4 separate regions of the Homo sapiens genome follow, and all the other regions are linked to region 1. The links are contacts of gene promoters, found by promoter capture Hi-C in human tissues and cell types (Jung and others, 2019). All regions are on one chromosome and are shown on one strand. Each heading gives the region's core, a stretch centred on a gene start or on the middle of the fragment in contact. The rest is flanking DNA. Distances are from core to core; before and after follow the strand shown.

What was found. The method cuts DNA at HindIII sites, captures the fragments that hold promoters and counts their contacts. A contact is called where the count stands out against the background at its distance.
Region 2: a contact is called between a fragment that was not itself captured here and the fragment with the promoter of ZFP41 in region 1, in 1 of the 25 tissues and cell types used here (dorsolateral prefrontal cortex).
Region 3: a contact is called between a fragment that was not itself captured here and the fragment with the promoter of ZFP41 in region 1, in 1 of the 25 tissues and cell types used here (lymphoblastoid cells).
Region 4: a contact is called between the fragment with the promoter of SCRIB here and the fragment with the promoter of ZFP41 in region 1, in 1 of the 25 tissues and cell types used here (dorsolateral prefrontal cortex).

What each region holds. Positions count from the first base shown.
Region 1 is chr8:143,244,422-143,248,212 of GRCh38, reverse strand. It overlaps ZFP41 (ZFP41 zinc finger protein), which reads right to left and starts at 1,274. Exons shown (of 3, transcript NM_173832.6): 1 at 1,071-1,274. RefSeq lists silencers at 840-889, 930-1,819, 2,020-2,179. The HindIII fragment of the contact is 22,994 bases long and covers 1-3,791 here.
Region 2 is chr8:143,777,864-143,781,557 of GRCh38, reverse strand. The region is part of intron 7 of IQANK1 (IQ motif and ankyrin repeat containing 1); the gene reads right to left. Among named protein-coding and RNA genes, the nearest start is that of MIR937, 33 kb to the left of the region's middle. The HindIII fragment of the contact is 4,347 bases long and covers 1-3,694 here.
Region 3 is chr8:142,395,364-142,398,979 of GRCh38, reverse strand. All of the region lies in intron 1 of TSNARE1 (t-SNARE domain containing 1), which reads left to right. Among named protein-coding and RNA genes, the nearest start is that of TSNARE1, 6.0 kb to the left of the region's middle. RefSeq lists an enhancer at 1,867-2,368. The HindIII fragment of the contact is 4,419 bases long and covers 1-3,572 here.
Region 4 is chr8:143,814,043-143,817,572 of GRCh38, reverse strand. SCRIB (scribble planar cell polarity protein) reads left to right here and starts at 1,800. Exons shown (of 37, transcript NM_182706.5): 1 at 1,800-2,359; 2 at 3,455-3,530. The coding sequence starts at 2,201. PUF60 (poly(U) binding splicing factor 60) reads left to right here. Exons shown (of 12, transcript NM_078480.3): 10 at 107-242; 11 at 428-663; 12 at 754-1,229. The coding sequence ends at 1,053. RefSeq lists enhancers at 1,208-1,840, 1,841-2,473, 2,758-3,422. The HindIII fragment of the contact is 41,605 bases long and covers 1-3,530 here.

The sequences.
Region 1 (3,791 bases), core at 25-2,524:
CTGGCAGGTGCTAACCGGCAGAGACTGGAATGACTCACTTCTCTACACGCTGCCCACCCTGAGAAATAAAATATTTCTTAAAAGCAGAGTGGACTGGCCGGGCGCGGTGGCTCATGCCTGTAATCCCAGCACTTTGGGAGGCCGAGGTGGGCGGATCACGAGGTCAGGAGATCGAGACCATCCTGGCCAACATGGTGAAACCCTGTCCCTACCAAAACACAAAAAATTAGCTGGGCGTGGTGGCACGTGCCTGTAGTCCTAGCTACTCAGGAGGCTGAGGGAGGGGAATTGCCTGAACCCAGGAGATAGAAGTTGCAGTGAGCAAAGGTCGCGCCAGTGCACTCCTGCCTGGCGACAGAACAAGACTCCGTCTCAAACAAAAAAACCAAACCAAACCAAAACAAAAAACCCCACACGCAAAAAACAAAAACGGATTGGACCATAGCGATTTTCTTGGCCTCACCTCACAGGCCTGTAGACAGGAGTGATTAGCTAGTTACAAACAGCGCAACCCACGCTTGCCACACCCCTAAAGACTGGGGTTCTGGTTCTGTCGTGCAACTCCAGCGTAGCTCCGTCGCCTCTCTGGGCGGAGGACCCTTCACTTGTAATATGAAGCTCTGGGTATCCGTGGGCGGTAAGGGCTGCCTAGAAAACCTCACTCACCCTGGCGCCTCCCTCCACTACTTTCAGGGATCTGGGTCTCATGGAGAGACTGGAACATTAGTGGGCTTGAGATTCAGGGGCAATCTGCACTAAAACAGCCTGCTGGGTCCACGGCCTGCCAGGGGCCTGCTAGCTGTGCCAAGGCCTGAGATGCCAGGCATCTGAGCCAGGCGGAGGGGCCCGCCAGGGTCCCGTGCGTGCTCCTAGTTAGAGGCTCTCCTTTCAACGGCAGAGCCCCGCGGCCCACGTGCAGAGCTAGGTCGGCCTCGGGGCCGGCGCCCGGGAGGTGCTCAAAGCCGGGTCTTGCCACATCCCTGGAGCGCCGGGGTGCGGGGAGGCGGCGGGGCCCATACCGACGCTGCGCGTCCTGGGCCGGAGGCGGCAGGCAGGAGCCCAGTGAGTACCTGGCTGGAGACGAGAGGCGACGAGGACCTCCCGCTGCAGAGCGCGGACGCGCCCGGGCCCTACCAGGACTGCTGGAGGGCGGGGAGAGGCGCGCGCCCCTCGCGGGGGCCGGAGGCAGGAAAGGAGAGCCCTAGATGCGGGACCCCCCAACAGCTCCCCACCAGTGCCAGCGTCCCCGTCGGCCCTAGGCACCGGCAGGAAATGCCCGCCCGCTGACCCGCCCCTTCCGGCGGCCGCGCTAGGAGCCTGGGCCGGACTCGGTGATGGTGGGCGGTGGAGGGCTCGGCCCGAGCGGCTCCATCCCCAGCCGACTCCGCCCCCGAAGACCCCGCCCCGATCAGGCCCCGCCCCCTCAGGCTTCACCCATAACTGCCGCCACGCCCGCAGGGTCCTCCCCGAGCTGACCCCGCCCCTTTACAGTCGTCTATGGCAGGCGCCCTCCCGAAGGCTCCCCCGAAATCAGGTCCCTCCCCGAGCGGGCCCCGCCTCCGAAAGCTCCTTCCCGAGCCGGCTTCCCCTCATGCCCCGCCCCCTCAGGCTCCGCCCTCGTGTCCCGCCCCCGAAAGTTCCTCCCCAGCCACCTCCCCACATGCTCCGCCCCCAGGCTCCGCCCCATGTCCCGCCCCCAAAAAGCCCCGCCCCGAACCGGCACCCTCATGCCCCGCCCCCAGCGGCCCCGCCCCGCAAGGCCCAGTCCCCAGCAGCTCGGTCCCGAGCCGACCCTGTCACGTAGGCTGCGCCCACCAGACTCTCCGGATCCGACGCGCGTGGGCTCCTGGCTCCAGACCCCCAACGGGGAGGTCGCGGCCGCGTGCTGGGAGACTTGTCCCTGAGGACGCTCCCCGCCAACCCCCAGCCCCCGCCGACCCCCAGCTCCCGCCTCCGCCGACCCCCAGCCCCCGCCTCCGCGGCGCCCACGGCTTGCCTCCACGGGAAGTCGCTGTCTCCGCCTTCAGCGCGGAAGGAGAACCGACGCCTCTCCAGGCCGCGGGCCCCTAGCTAGGCGGGCAACGCCTCCACCGCCGCCGCCACCGCGTGCGCGCCCTGGCGAGCCGTCCCCCACCACGTGGCCCCTGCCGCTCCTCCCGCCGCAGGCAGCCCCTCCGGGATGTGCTCCCAGCCGCTGGCTGTGCTCACTCCACTTCCTGCCTGCCCAGATCGCACTGAGCCGCCAGGCCCGCCAGAGCCCCGCGTGTTAGTTCCCTACGTACCGCAAATTGGGTGTCCTAAAACGACATCCGCCTATTATCTCAAGGCTTCTGTGGGCCAGAAGGCCAGGCTTAGCTGGGTCCTCAGCTCTGGTCAGCCGCTGTGTTCTCATCTGGGGGCTGGACTGGGGAAGGATCACTTCCCACCTCATGCGATTGCTGGCAGAAGTCATGTCCTGGTGCCTGTAGGACTGAGGGCCGGCAGGAGCTGCTCTCAGCTCCCGGGGGCTGCCTGCCAGTCCCTACTGTGGGAGGGTGGGCGGTTCACAGGGTGGCCGCTTCCCCAGGGTCCGTGGGAGAGCCCCACCCCCAGATGGAGTCCTGTGGAACAGAACCTAATTGTGGGTGACATGCCACCCCCTCGGCCCAGTTCTACTCAGATTCAAGTCACAAGTGCCGCCTGTAGCCAAGGGAAGGATGGGCATTGGGCTGGCTCTGGCACATCTCCTTAGGATATCTGCAGCATTCTGCCCCCCCAACACTTCCCATTTCCACTTTCTATATGATTTCCTTATTATATTTATTATTAATTATCCCCCGCTCCCACACTCCCATGCAAATCAGCTCTTGGAGGGCAGCCACCTGTTCTTGTTCTGGGTGCCTGATGTGTGCTGGGCCCTCGTGTCGTGTGGACTGAGTGAGCATGAGTGGAGATCTTAGGTGCTGCTGGTGTCGTGGCACCCTAGGAACTGCCTGCCCCCACCCAGCCCTCTCTCCAACTGCCTCCTGGACTTAGCAAGGTGTTGAAAACCAGGCAGTTCTGCTCCCTCCTCGTCCCACCCCCCTCTCCCATCCTGTTGCTTTTACCTCCCAATGTTTTAAACCACCCACTCTTGTCCAGCCTGCTTCCTCTGTCCCGGCTGCAACCCCATCTCCTCTCACCAGCATTACTTCTGTGCCCTGCCCTGGGGTCTCCCTGCCTTCATTTGGGCTCCCCTGTCCACCCCTCCTACAGCAGCTGGAGGGACTGACTTACCGGGCAAACCCACAGTGGCCCTCCCAGCTTCACGCCTGTCCTGCAGGATGAGGTCTGGGCCCCCTTAGCAGCTGCAAAGGGGCCTGCACAGACTTGCAGGCCGCCCCTCTCACCACCCTTTCCCCTTCCAGGAGACTCAGCAGCAAGTGCTTGCCCTGCCACACAGCATCGGCTGCATGCCTCAACCCTGGGCCTTGAACACCCCCGCTCCGCCTCCGCCTGACAGACCCTTTCCTGCTTTTTAAGACTCCACCTGTTCGAGCTCCTCTGTGCCAGCCCCGGCCTCGCCCCTGCCAGCCTTAGGCCAAGGCTGCGTGGGTAGCTGTCCATACAGGTTACATGCTGCACATGACCCTCGGTCAGGGCTTGTCTTTTTCATCTTTGTATTATCGGGGGCCAACACATAGCCCATAGCAGGTGCCTAATCCATATTTATTGAGCAATTGATGACTGATGGGGCTGGGACAGAGAGAATAAGACTGAGAATAAGAATGGCAGGGTGGGCGCAGTGGCTCATGCCTGTAACCCCAGCACTT
Region 2 (3,694 bases), core at 740-3,239, 530 kb before region 1:
TGGAATAACTGGCTAGCCATATGCAGAAGATTGAAGATGGACCCCTTCCTTACACCATACATAAAAATCAACTCAAGATGGATTAAAGACTTAAATGTAAAACTCAAAACTATAAAAACCCTGGAAGACAACATAGGCAATACCATCCTGGACATAAGAACGGGCAAAAATTTCATGACAAAGACACCAAAAGCAATCAAAACAAAAGCAAAAATTGACAAGTAGGATCTAATTAAACATGAGAGCTTCTGCATAGCAAAAGAAACTATCAGCAAAGTAAACAGACCACCTACAGAATGGGAGAGCATATCTGCAAACTATGCATCTGACAGAAGTCTAACATCCAGCATTTATAAGGATCTTATACAAACTTACAAGAGAAAACCCCATTAAAAAGTGAACAAAGAAAATGAACAGACACTTTTCAAAATAAGACATGCATGTGGCCAGCAAGCATATGAAAAAAAGCTCAATATCACTGATCATCAGAGAAATGCAAATCAAAACCACAATGAGGATACACCATCTCATACCAGCCAGAATGGCTACTATAAAAAGTCAAAAAATAACAGATGCTGGTGAGGTTGTGGAGAAAAGGGAACACACACACACTGTTGGTGGGAGTATAAATTAGTTCAGCCACTGTGGAAAGCAGTATGGGAATTCCTCAAAGACCTAAAAGCAGAACTACCATTGGACCCAGCAATCCCATTACTGGGTATATACCCAGAGGAATATAAAGCAGTGTACCATAAAGACACATGCACGCATATGTTGACTGCAGCACTATTCACAATAGCAAAGACATGGACTCAACCTAAATGCCCATCAGTGACAGACAAGATAAAGAAAATGTGGTACATGCACACCGTGGAATACTATGCAGCCATAAAAAAAGAATGAGATCATGTCCTTTGCAGGAACATGGATGGAGCTGGAGGCCATTATCCTCAGCAAACTATCGCAGGAACAGAAAACCAAACACCACATGTTCTCACCTGTAAACGGGAGCTAAAGGATGAGAACTTAGGAACACAAAGAAGGAAACAACAGATACTAGGATCTACTTGAGGGTGGAGGGTGGGAGGAGGGAGGGGAGCAGAAAACTATTGGGTACTGGGCTTAGTTCCTGGTGAGGAAATAATCTGTACGACAAATCCCCATGACTATGTCACCTGCATAACAAACCTTCACATGTACCCCCAAACCTAAAAGAAAAGTTAAAAAAAGATGACTTAACATCTCTGTGCTTAAGTTTCTTTGTATATAATAAAGTCTTTGTATATAATGTAGGAATATTAATAATACTACAATCAGGTTTGTTGAGAGGATTAAACTGGGAACTTTATACATATTTCAGGAAAGTTTTGTAACTTGAAAAAAAGAAGGAAGCAAGCACTATAAAATTCAGGATATGATGATCTGGGGAGAGGTGTGGTGTTCTGGCGATACTTTATTTCTTGAGTCAGGTAGTTACTACATGAGTATTTCCTTTGTGGTAAATAATTGAGCCACAACTTTGATTTCTGCAATATTCTGTATGTCATTTGTAATTAAAAAGGAAAGTCTGAAGATGTATAAAATCAAGGAGTAGCTAAAATGAGAGAAGGGATGAATGGATAACTAGATAAATAGGATGGAAGAGTGAACAGACATACGAATGAGGCAATGATTTTGTAACTTAAAAGAAATTGTGATACTCATTTAAAATAATAATAGCTACCATTTCTTGAGAACTGACTTTGCACCAGGAATTGTGCCAAGGAATTTCATTCACTATCTCATGAATCTTCAAAAAGCTGTTATTAGTCCCATTTCTGAATATATGGAAACAGATTCAAATAAGCTTCAGAACTTGCCAAAGTTCTGTCTGTAAGTGGAAGAACTGGAGTAGACGGAAAATGAATGAAGACAGAAAATAAAAGGATAATATAACGAGTAAACTTACGAGTGTCTTAATGAATAGGCAATAAATGATGAATGAATGAGTAAATTAATGAATTAAACTATAAGAGAATGAAGATTAGATTAATTGAATGAACTGATTAAATGATGAACTGATACATGAAAAATTAATAGATGAATGAGTGTAAAGAATGGATACGTGAGATAAGCAAATGGTTAGTTGAGCAACTGGATGGATGAATTGATGGATGAATTCATCGTTCAACAAAATGTTTCAGTGCCTATCGTGGTCAACCAATACTGGGGCATACGATTAAGGGGTGAACGAGACACAGTCCTTCTTTGCTTTCTCATAATTTTCTGTCAAGTAAACAGCATGAATGCGTGTATGAATGGATGAATGGATGTCTGAATGAATAGTAGATAAAAAATAAGTGAATAATTATTTAAACATGGTGTAAGGGTGGAATGGGCACATTAATGAGTGGATAGCTTATAAGTTTATAAATTTATATATGTTTATAAGTTCATAAATTTATATATAAGCTTATAAATTTATTTATAAGTTTATAAATAAATGACTCATGGCTGGGCATGGTGGCTCACACCTGTAATCCCAGCACTTTGGGAGGCCGAGGCAGGCAGCCCACCTGAGGTCAGGAGTTCGAAACCAGCTGGCCAACATGGCAAAACCCCATCTCTACTTAACATACAAAAGAACAAATTAGCTGGGCGTGGTGGCGCATGCCTGTAGTCCCAGCTACTCTGGAGGCTGAGGCAGGAGAACCGCATAAACCCGGGAGGCAGAGGTTGCAGTGAGATTGCGCCACTGCCCTCCAGCCTGGGTGACAGAGCAAGACTCCATCTCTAAATAAATAAATAAATGACTCAAGTTAATAAGATAATTATGAATTGGCGAAAGCGCAAACCAATACTGGGGCGAGATGGATGAAGTGGGTGAATGTATGGAAACGATGACTGATGAATGATGAAGGGATGGTGATGGACAGCGTGGTTCAGCTCTTCGGTATCATCGCTGATATTCCGTCTACTTGTCTCATCAATTATGGGGAGAGAGAGATGGCAAAATCGCCTATTACCATTGTGGATCTCTTTATTTCTCCTTGTAGTTCTCATAGTTTTTGCTTCATGCATTTTGAAACCCTGTTAGTAGCTGCATGAACATTTAGGATTTTTATGTCCTCATGATGAATTCCTACATTTGTCATTACTAAATGATTCTTTTATCCTTAGTAACATACTTTTTTCTGAAATCTACTTGATGTTAATACAGTTACTTCAGCATCCTGTTTAGTGTTATCTTGGCATATTTGTTTTTATCATTTTAATTTTCAACTATTTGTGCTTTTACATTTAAAGCTTGTTTCTTATAGGTAGAACATAGTTAGCTACAATTTTTAATCCAAAATGACAATCCATCTTTTTTTTTTTTGTTTTGAGACGGAGTCTTACTCTGTCACCCAGGCTGGAGTGCAGTGGTGCGATCTTGGCTCACTGCAAGCTCCGCCTCCTGGGTTCACGCCATTCTCCTGCCTCAGCCTCCCAAGTAGCTGGGACTACAGGCGCCCGCTACGATGCCCGGCTAATTTTTTTGTATTTTTAGTAGAGACGGGGTTTCACCATGTTAGCCAGGATGGTCTCGATCTTCTGACCTCGTGATCCGCCCGCCTCGGCCTTCCAAAGTGCTGGGATTACAGGCGTGAGCCACCGCGCCCGGCAACAATCCATCTTTTAATTGGGGTGTTTAGAATGTCCATGTGTAATGAGA
Region 3 (3,616 bases), core at 114-2,613, 850 kb after region 1:
CAGGCTATGAGATTCTCTCGTCAACTTGCGGCTTGCTGAGTCTGGGATGGGGGTGAAGGTGGCTCCGTGTGGGCTTCAAATCCGGACTGTGCTGCACAGGGCCCTTCCTTTTTTGTCCTTGGGTAGGTCCTGTTAGGATGTGAACCCACTTGGGGGCCACTGCAGGCAAGCAGGACAGTCTACTGGGTGTTCCTGCCTGGACAGGGTCATTGGCAAGTCCCCAGCCCCTGCCCCTGCCATCAGGGCTGCTGTCTGAGATGTGTAATGTTCTGTGAGACTATGCTAAGGCCATGCCTGGCATGAGTCTTGGGATGGACACAGTGGCAAGCAGGATCAGGCTGTCCTGGCCTTGCTCCGGACACTGCTGTGCACCTTACAGAGCAAGGTCGAGGCAGTGGAGTGAGGAGGTGGAGAGGGCACCTTACAGAGCAAGGTTGAGGCGGTGGAGTGAGGAGGTGGAGAGGGCACCTTACAGAGCAAGGTTGAGGCGGTGGAGTGAGGAGGTGGAGAGGGGAGCTGACTCTGCTGGGGTTGTGCTTTGGCAGGGCTGGGGATGTGCTTTGGGAGGGTTTGGGGGCATATTTTGGGGCTGGAGGTGTGTTTTGGGTAGGGCCGGGGGCATGTTTTGGGCAGGGCTAGGGGTGTGTTTTGGGCAGGGCTGGGGGTGTGTTTTGGGCAGGGCTGGGGACATGTTTTGGGCAGGGCTAGGGGTGTGTTTTGGGCAGGGCTGGGGGTGCGCTTTGGGAGGGTTTGGGGGTGCGTTTTGGGCAGGGCTGGGTAGATACCTGGGAAGAATCCTGGATGCTGGTGAGGCCTGAGCTGTGTCTGGAGAGCTGAGTGGCCTTAGCTGGGGAGGGCAGGAGAGGCAGCTACTCCAGGCAGCGGGAGGCCCAAGGGAAGGCACAGCAGTGCTGGACTCCTAGTAGGCAGGTCTGACTCGGGTCAGCCTGTGAGGGTCTTGGGAGGCAGGGTGAGGCCTGGGCTTTTCTGATGGCTGTTGGTGCTGAGCAGGGAACCCGGGGCCCAGGCTGAGGTTTGCCGAAGAGGTCTGGAGACAGGGCTGGGTGGAGCAGTGCCACACCGAGGGCCTGTGTCTGGAGCCTGCAGGGGCCAGGCTCCATGCCTTGGCACTGTGTGCTGGGTGCCTTGTGGTGGCTGCGCTGTGGGCCCCCTCGATGGATTGGTGGGCTAGCCACGCAGCTGAGTGGACTGGCAGCAGCTGCTGCTCATTGTCCTGGCAACCCTGGGCTTCAGGCTGCAGGCTCGAGCCCTCCCCAGCATGGAAGCCAGTGAGCAGAGCCAGGCACTCACGCTGGCCTGGGAGCCTCTGGCCCAGTGCTGTGGCCAGATCAACTGTTGTTTTCTTCCACAGTGGAAGATTGCCTCGTTTTCTCCCTCTGATTTGCCCTGTGGGGAGGGCTACAACCCAGCCCTGACTTACGTAACATCCAGGTAGGGACACAGCATTGCCACATCTTAGCCGTGGGACCCTGGCCATGTCACTTGGCCCCTCCAGGAGCCCTGCCTTTCCATGTCATTAGTCTGATCCTGCAGCCTCCTGGGAGGTGGGCAGCATTGTGTCTGTCCCAGAGACTTGGAATCTCCGGGCGTCTTGGGGGACATCACCTGAGGGGTGTAGGGAAGAATTCCCAAGGTGCACAGAGGGGCTGTGGAAGGTCAGGGAGTGCAGCCCCAGGGTAGGCGGAGCTGCCTCTCTCCTGTGAGACCCTCGGGCTGCCTCGCCACTGCCACACAGAGGGGCTGTGGAAGGTCAGGGAGTGCAGCCCCAGGGCAGGCGGAGCTGCCTCTCTCCTGTGAGACCCTCGGGCTGCCTCGCCACTGCCACACATAGGGGCTGTGGAAGGTCAGGGAGTGCAGCCCCAGGGCAGGCGGAGCTGCCTCTCTCCTGTGAGACCCTCGGGCTGCCTCGCCACTGCCACACATAGGGGCTGTGGAAGGTCAGGGAGTGCAGCCCCAGGGCAGGTGGAGCTGCCTCTCTCCTGTGAGACCCTCGGGCTGCCTCGCCACTGCTACACACATCACAGAGCTTGCTCTACCTGGTCAGCCATGGCACGGCCAGCTCGCACAGTAGACCTGAGCGTCAGGCTGTCTTGGATTCTGATTATAACAACACCTCCTGCTTTTGACCACAGGGCATCTGTCAGGCACCTGCTAGGCTCTTCCTGCTCCTCAGATCAGGAAACTTCCCAGCCTTGGGAAACTTACCTGAAGTCACGGGGGTGGTAAATGCCCAGCCATGACTTGAGCCCTGGTGTTCTCACCAGGATTCTGATCAGAGGCAGAAATCAGAGGCATTGCTCACCGTTCTGCTGCCCGGCCCACCTGGCGATCCTGCCCTGCTGCTCTCCAGGGGGACCAGGCTGGAAGCAGCTTTACAAACAAAAATTCCCTGTTGAGTTAGAGGATGTTATTAATAATGGCAATTACTGCACTAATAAAGACCTAATCCTGTCCCTCCCTTCCATCTTGAGATGATGTTCCAGAGCAGAGTGTGGCAGGGGTTCACAGGCTTGAAGGAATCCAGGTATGGAGGTTGAGATTTCTGATGGAGAGGGGAGGTGGGCGGAGCTCAAGATTCTTGTTCCCATAAGGCTTGAGGCTAGGAGGTCGGGGTGGTGTGAGCCCCCAGAGGCTGTGGTTGCCTGTGGATGGTGTCTAGCTGAGTCAAGCGTTTCCAGGGCTTTGGGGCCAGGTGCGCGGGTGTGTGCGTGTGTGTGTGTGTGTTTGTGTTTATCGCCTGAGCCTGACCCTGGGTGTCATCTGAGGGGTGCACACTGAACCTGTACCAATGGGAAGCTGGGCATTGGAGGGGTGATGGTGAAGGAGTTGAGTGTGGCATGGTCTGGGGAAGATGAGGGCCAGTGTTCTGAGGGCATGGGTCATCAAGGGTCCTGTCAGAGAGCCACGGACAAAGAGAGCCACAGGCGTCTGCCCTGGACAGAGCCACGGACAAAGAGAGCCACAGGCGTCTGCCCTGGACAGAGCGGGCCACCTTGGCTGCCCTCCATCTGGACCCATGATCCATTCTAGCGAAGTATTTGGAAGGGGACATGTTTTTAAACCAGAGCCCAGAATCAGTCTCTCCCAACATTAGAAAGAAGCAACACAACACAGCAGCCTCCTTCCTGGGCTGGCTGCCCTCGGTGCTAATGAGGAGCTGGATTCCTTGCTGGGAGTCTGACCTCCTTCCCGCTGCTGCTCACTTGTGGGAAGGTGCTGATGAGCGTGGTGTGCTGGGAGTGGGCGCAGGAGGCGGAATTGCAAGTGGGGAGAACCGTTGCTTCTGCTGCTTCGTGGTACCTGGGCGTTTTCGCCGGTCACAGCCTCCAGCCTGGGCCCCTTAATTCTGCATCTTGCTGAGGGGTAGATCCGGCGGTGCCGCCCCCTGGCGACAGATCTTCCTGGCAGCTCCAGCCTCACTGTCACTTGGCATCTGCGGTGCTCCATGGGCTTTCCAGCCCCTGGGAAACCTGCTGCGCTGACTCCGCAGGCTGCCTGCAGCCTGCCCCCCGTGTCTTTGCTGGGGCCGCCCCTCTGCCTGGAGTGGCCCCGACTGGTGACCTCCTGGGCTGTTGAAGTCTCCGCTGGGGGACGC
Region 4 (3,530 bases), core at 551-3,050, 570 kb before region 1:
TCGGCTTGAGGGTGGGCGGGCTGGCCCCTGATTCCTTGGAGACTGATTCAAGGTGGTCTTGAGTAGCCAGACCAGGGACTGAGCACGGTGACCTTTTGGGTTGCAGGAAGCAGTGGCCGGAGCAGCGGTGCTGGGTACCCTGGGCACACCTGGACTGGTGTCCCCAGCACTGACCCTGGCCCAGCCCCTGGGCACTTTGCCCCAGGCTGTCATGGCTGCCCAGGCACCTGGAGTCATCACAGGTGAGTCTTAAGTGGTACCAGATCCTCTCCTCTCCTGTCCTGGCATCTCTCGGCTCGCTGCCCTCAGCTGCCTGGCCCTGGTGGTCTGGGCACAACCCTCTGAGCCCAGGGCAGGCCAGCTCTGTGCCTTTCTGGGAAGGGGGGTGGTAGGGAGTGACTGATGGACCTGGTTGGTTTTCCTGCAGGTGTGACCCCAGCCCGTCCTCCTATCCCGGTCACCATCCCCTCGGTGGGAGTGGTGAACCCCATCCTGGCCAGCCCTCCAACGCTGGGTCTCCTGGAGCCCAAGAAGGAGAAGGAAGAAGAGGAGCTGTTTCCCGAGTCAGAGCGGCCAGAGATGCTGAGCGAGCAGGAGCACATGAGCATCTCGGGCAGTAGCGCCCGACACATGGTGATGCAGAAGCTGCTCCGCAAGCAGGAGGTAGGCAGAGGGGCAGGGTGGTGGCGGGGGAGAGGGTAGGGGGGCGGGGCCGCAGTGCTCAGCTGTCTTCCCCTCGGCCCTGCCCCACAGTCTACAGTGATGGTTCTGCGCAACATGGTGGACCCCAAGGACATCGATGATGACCTGGAAGGGGAGGTGACAGAGGAGTGTGGCAAGTTCGGGGCCGTGAACCGCGTCATCATCTACCAAGAGAAACAAGGCGAGGAGGAGGATGCAGAAATCATTGTCAAGATCTTTGTGGAGTTTTCCATAGCCTCTGAGACTCATAAGGCCATCCAGGCCCTCAATGGCCGCTGGTTTGCTGGCCGCAAGGTGGTGGCTGAAGTGTACGACCAGGAGCGTTTTGATAACAGTGACCTCTCTGCGTGACAGTGGTCCCTCTCCCCGGACTTGCACTTGTTCCTTGTTTCCTCTGGGTTTTATAGTGATACAGTGGTGTCCCCGGGGCCAGGCGCGCTCTGCCCAGCCCAGCCTACAGTGCGGATAAAGGTGCGGATGCTGCTGGCCCTGAACGTCCGTGTGTCTGCCGTCGGTCCTGTCACCGATCCTGGGCGTGTGTCCTTAGGGGGTCTAGGGCGAGGAGGCAGGGTTGGGGGGGTCTCTGGACCTGCTTCCTGTTGGCAGGAGGGGCCTGCCGTGGGCGAGACCTGGGCAGGGGGTTGGCGCCCCGGGCCCCGTCCCGCGGGTGGCGGCGGCTGGGTGGGCGGGGCTGCCTGGGGCGCCAGGCTCTCGCGCGCGGGCTCGCAGCCGTCCCCGCAGGGTGGTGCTGAGAGAAGGCTGGGCACCGGGACACCGCGACCCGCTGGACAGCGCGCGCTGCCAGTGCTTTTGTGCCGCAGAGCCGGCCGTCCAAGGCGGGCGGGCGGGCATGGTCGCTTCCCGGGAGGAGGCTGTGCGTTAAGATTCGTGGCCAAATGCCGCGGGGCCAGGGGCCGGGCTGAAGACCGGAGGGCGGAGGGCGCCGCCTCTCGTGGATTGTAGCTCCCAATATCCCGCGCGCGGGGCGGGCCCGGCTTCCCGGCACGCTTTGCGCGGTGCCGCTACGGGTCCTCAGAGGCGGCGGCGCGCGGGGCCTTCTGGGGGCCGCAGTCCGGGCGTGCTAGGCGGCGAGGGCCGGACTCGGCTTCCCGACGGGCTGCGCGGCGGCCGGGTGGGTGTCGGCGGGGCAGTCCGGCGGGCAGCGGCGGTTCCGGTGCGGCACAGCGGGCGGACGAGCGGGCGGGACGAGCTGAGCAGGACCAAGCGGGATGCGGAGCCGCCGCCGCCGCCGCTCCCCGCGCTTCCTAAGAGTCTGAGACCCGCCGGGCCGCGCCCCCTGCCCAGGCCCGCAGTCCGAGCGTTCCGAGCGCGGGCCGGGCCCAGCGCCGGCCGCGGCCGCGTCCCCGTCCAGTCTCGGGCGGCCCGCCCCCTGCCTGCGCCCCCTCCCCATGCGCGGCGCCCATGCGGACTGAGCCCCGCCCCCCGGCCCCGAGCCCGCCGAGCGCCGCCGCCGGAGCCCGCGCCGCCCACCCGCACCATGCTCAAGTGCATCCCGCTGTGGCGCTGCAACCGGCACGTGGAGTCGGTGGACAAGCGGCACTGTTCGCTGCAGGCCGTGCCGGAGGAGATCTACCGCTACAGCCGCAGCCTGGAGGAGCTGCTGCTCGACGCCAACCAGCTGCGCGAGCTGCCCAAGGTGAGCGGCCGCCCGCACCTGCCGCCCAAAGGCGCGCCCCCAGCCCGTGATTCCTCCGGCGGCAGAATCTGCCCGGGCGAGTCACCGCAGCCTCCAGCCGGCCCTGCTGGTTTGCACTGGCCAGGTCCCCACCCCAGCCAGCCCCACCCTTCTCTTCCAGCCGCCCTGGCTGGCGCAGGTGGCAGCGGTCATCAGGTGCTTGCCTGGGGATAGCGATTGTCACCGAGCCTGGAGGCGGAGCCTCAGAGTGAAACCCGTGGGGATTCAGGGAGGTGGATGGGGTTAGGGTGGAACTTGGATTCAGGTGGCTGATGAGTACTAGCTTCTTGGGCCGCTCTGGAGGTGGGTCCAGACCTCCTCTCCTTTTTTGCTGGGTGCAGGGGTGAGTGGGGGAGCCCTCTTGATGTACTCTTTGCTCTCGGATCTGTTCGCTGTCCCCCTTTCTTTACCCTTGCTTCTCGTGGTCAGGTGCTCTCCTAAGGCTGCTACAAGAAAGGAGGCTGGAGAAAGCAGATTAAAAAGTATTTCTTTTCTGGAGATGGGGTGCTGGGTGATCAGTACCTAGGGGTTGGGTGTCCCAAAGAATGTGACCCTGTTCTGGCCGTGGCAGTGACAGCTCGGTCCTCTGTGGCCACCTGCAGGCCTCGCGCGTAGCACTGTGCCTGTGGTACTGTGTTATTGTGGGGAGCGTTTACTGAGTTCTTGCTGCAGAACCAGGCCAGGCTTGTTGTCAGGATGCAGTAGCAGAGGCCAGTGTGGGCCCCTGGAGGGTGGCAGAAGTGGTTCAGGGGCTGGGTGGGCCCTGAGGTAAGACACAGGGTAGGGGATTGGGGCTTTGTCTGGTCGCCAGCAGGTGTCTTCTCAGAGTGGAGGCTGGTGTGAAGAGTAGAGGGAGGCAGCCACAGTGGGCGTGTGTACCGTGTGTTTCTTTCCTTTTTTTGCAAATGGGGTGTCGTGGTTAGACCCCAGGACCCGGTGTGACCTGGAGCAGACAGAGGCCTAGGGACTCTTGACTTGTGACACTCACGTGTCCAGGAGCTCTTCTCTGCTCTGCAGTGGTCTCTGCCACAGAGTCCGTGTCCTCCCTGCCCACAGCCTTTTTTCCGGCTGCTGAACTTGCGCAAGCTGGGCCTGAGCGACAACGAGATCCAGCGGTTGCCTCCCGAGGTGG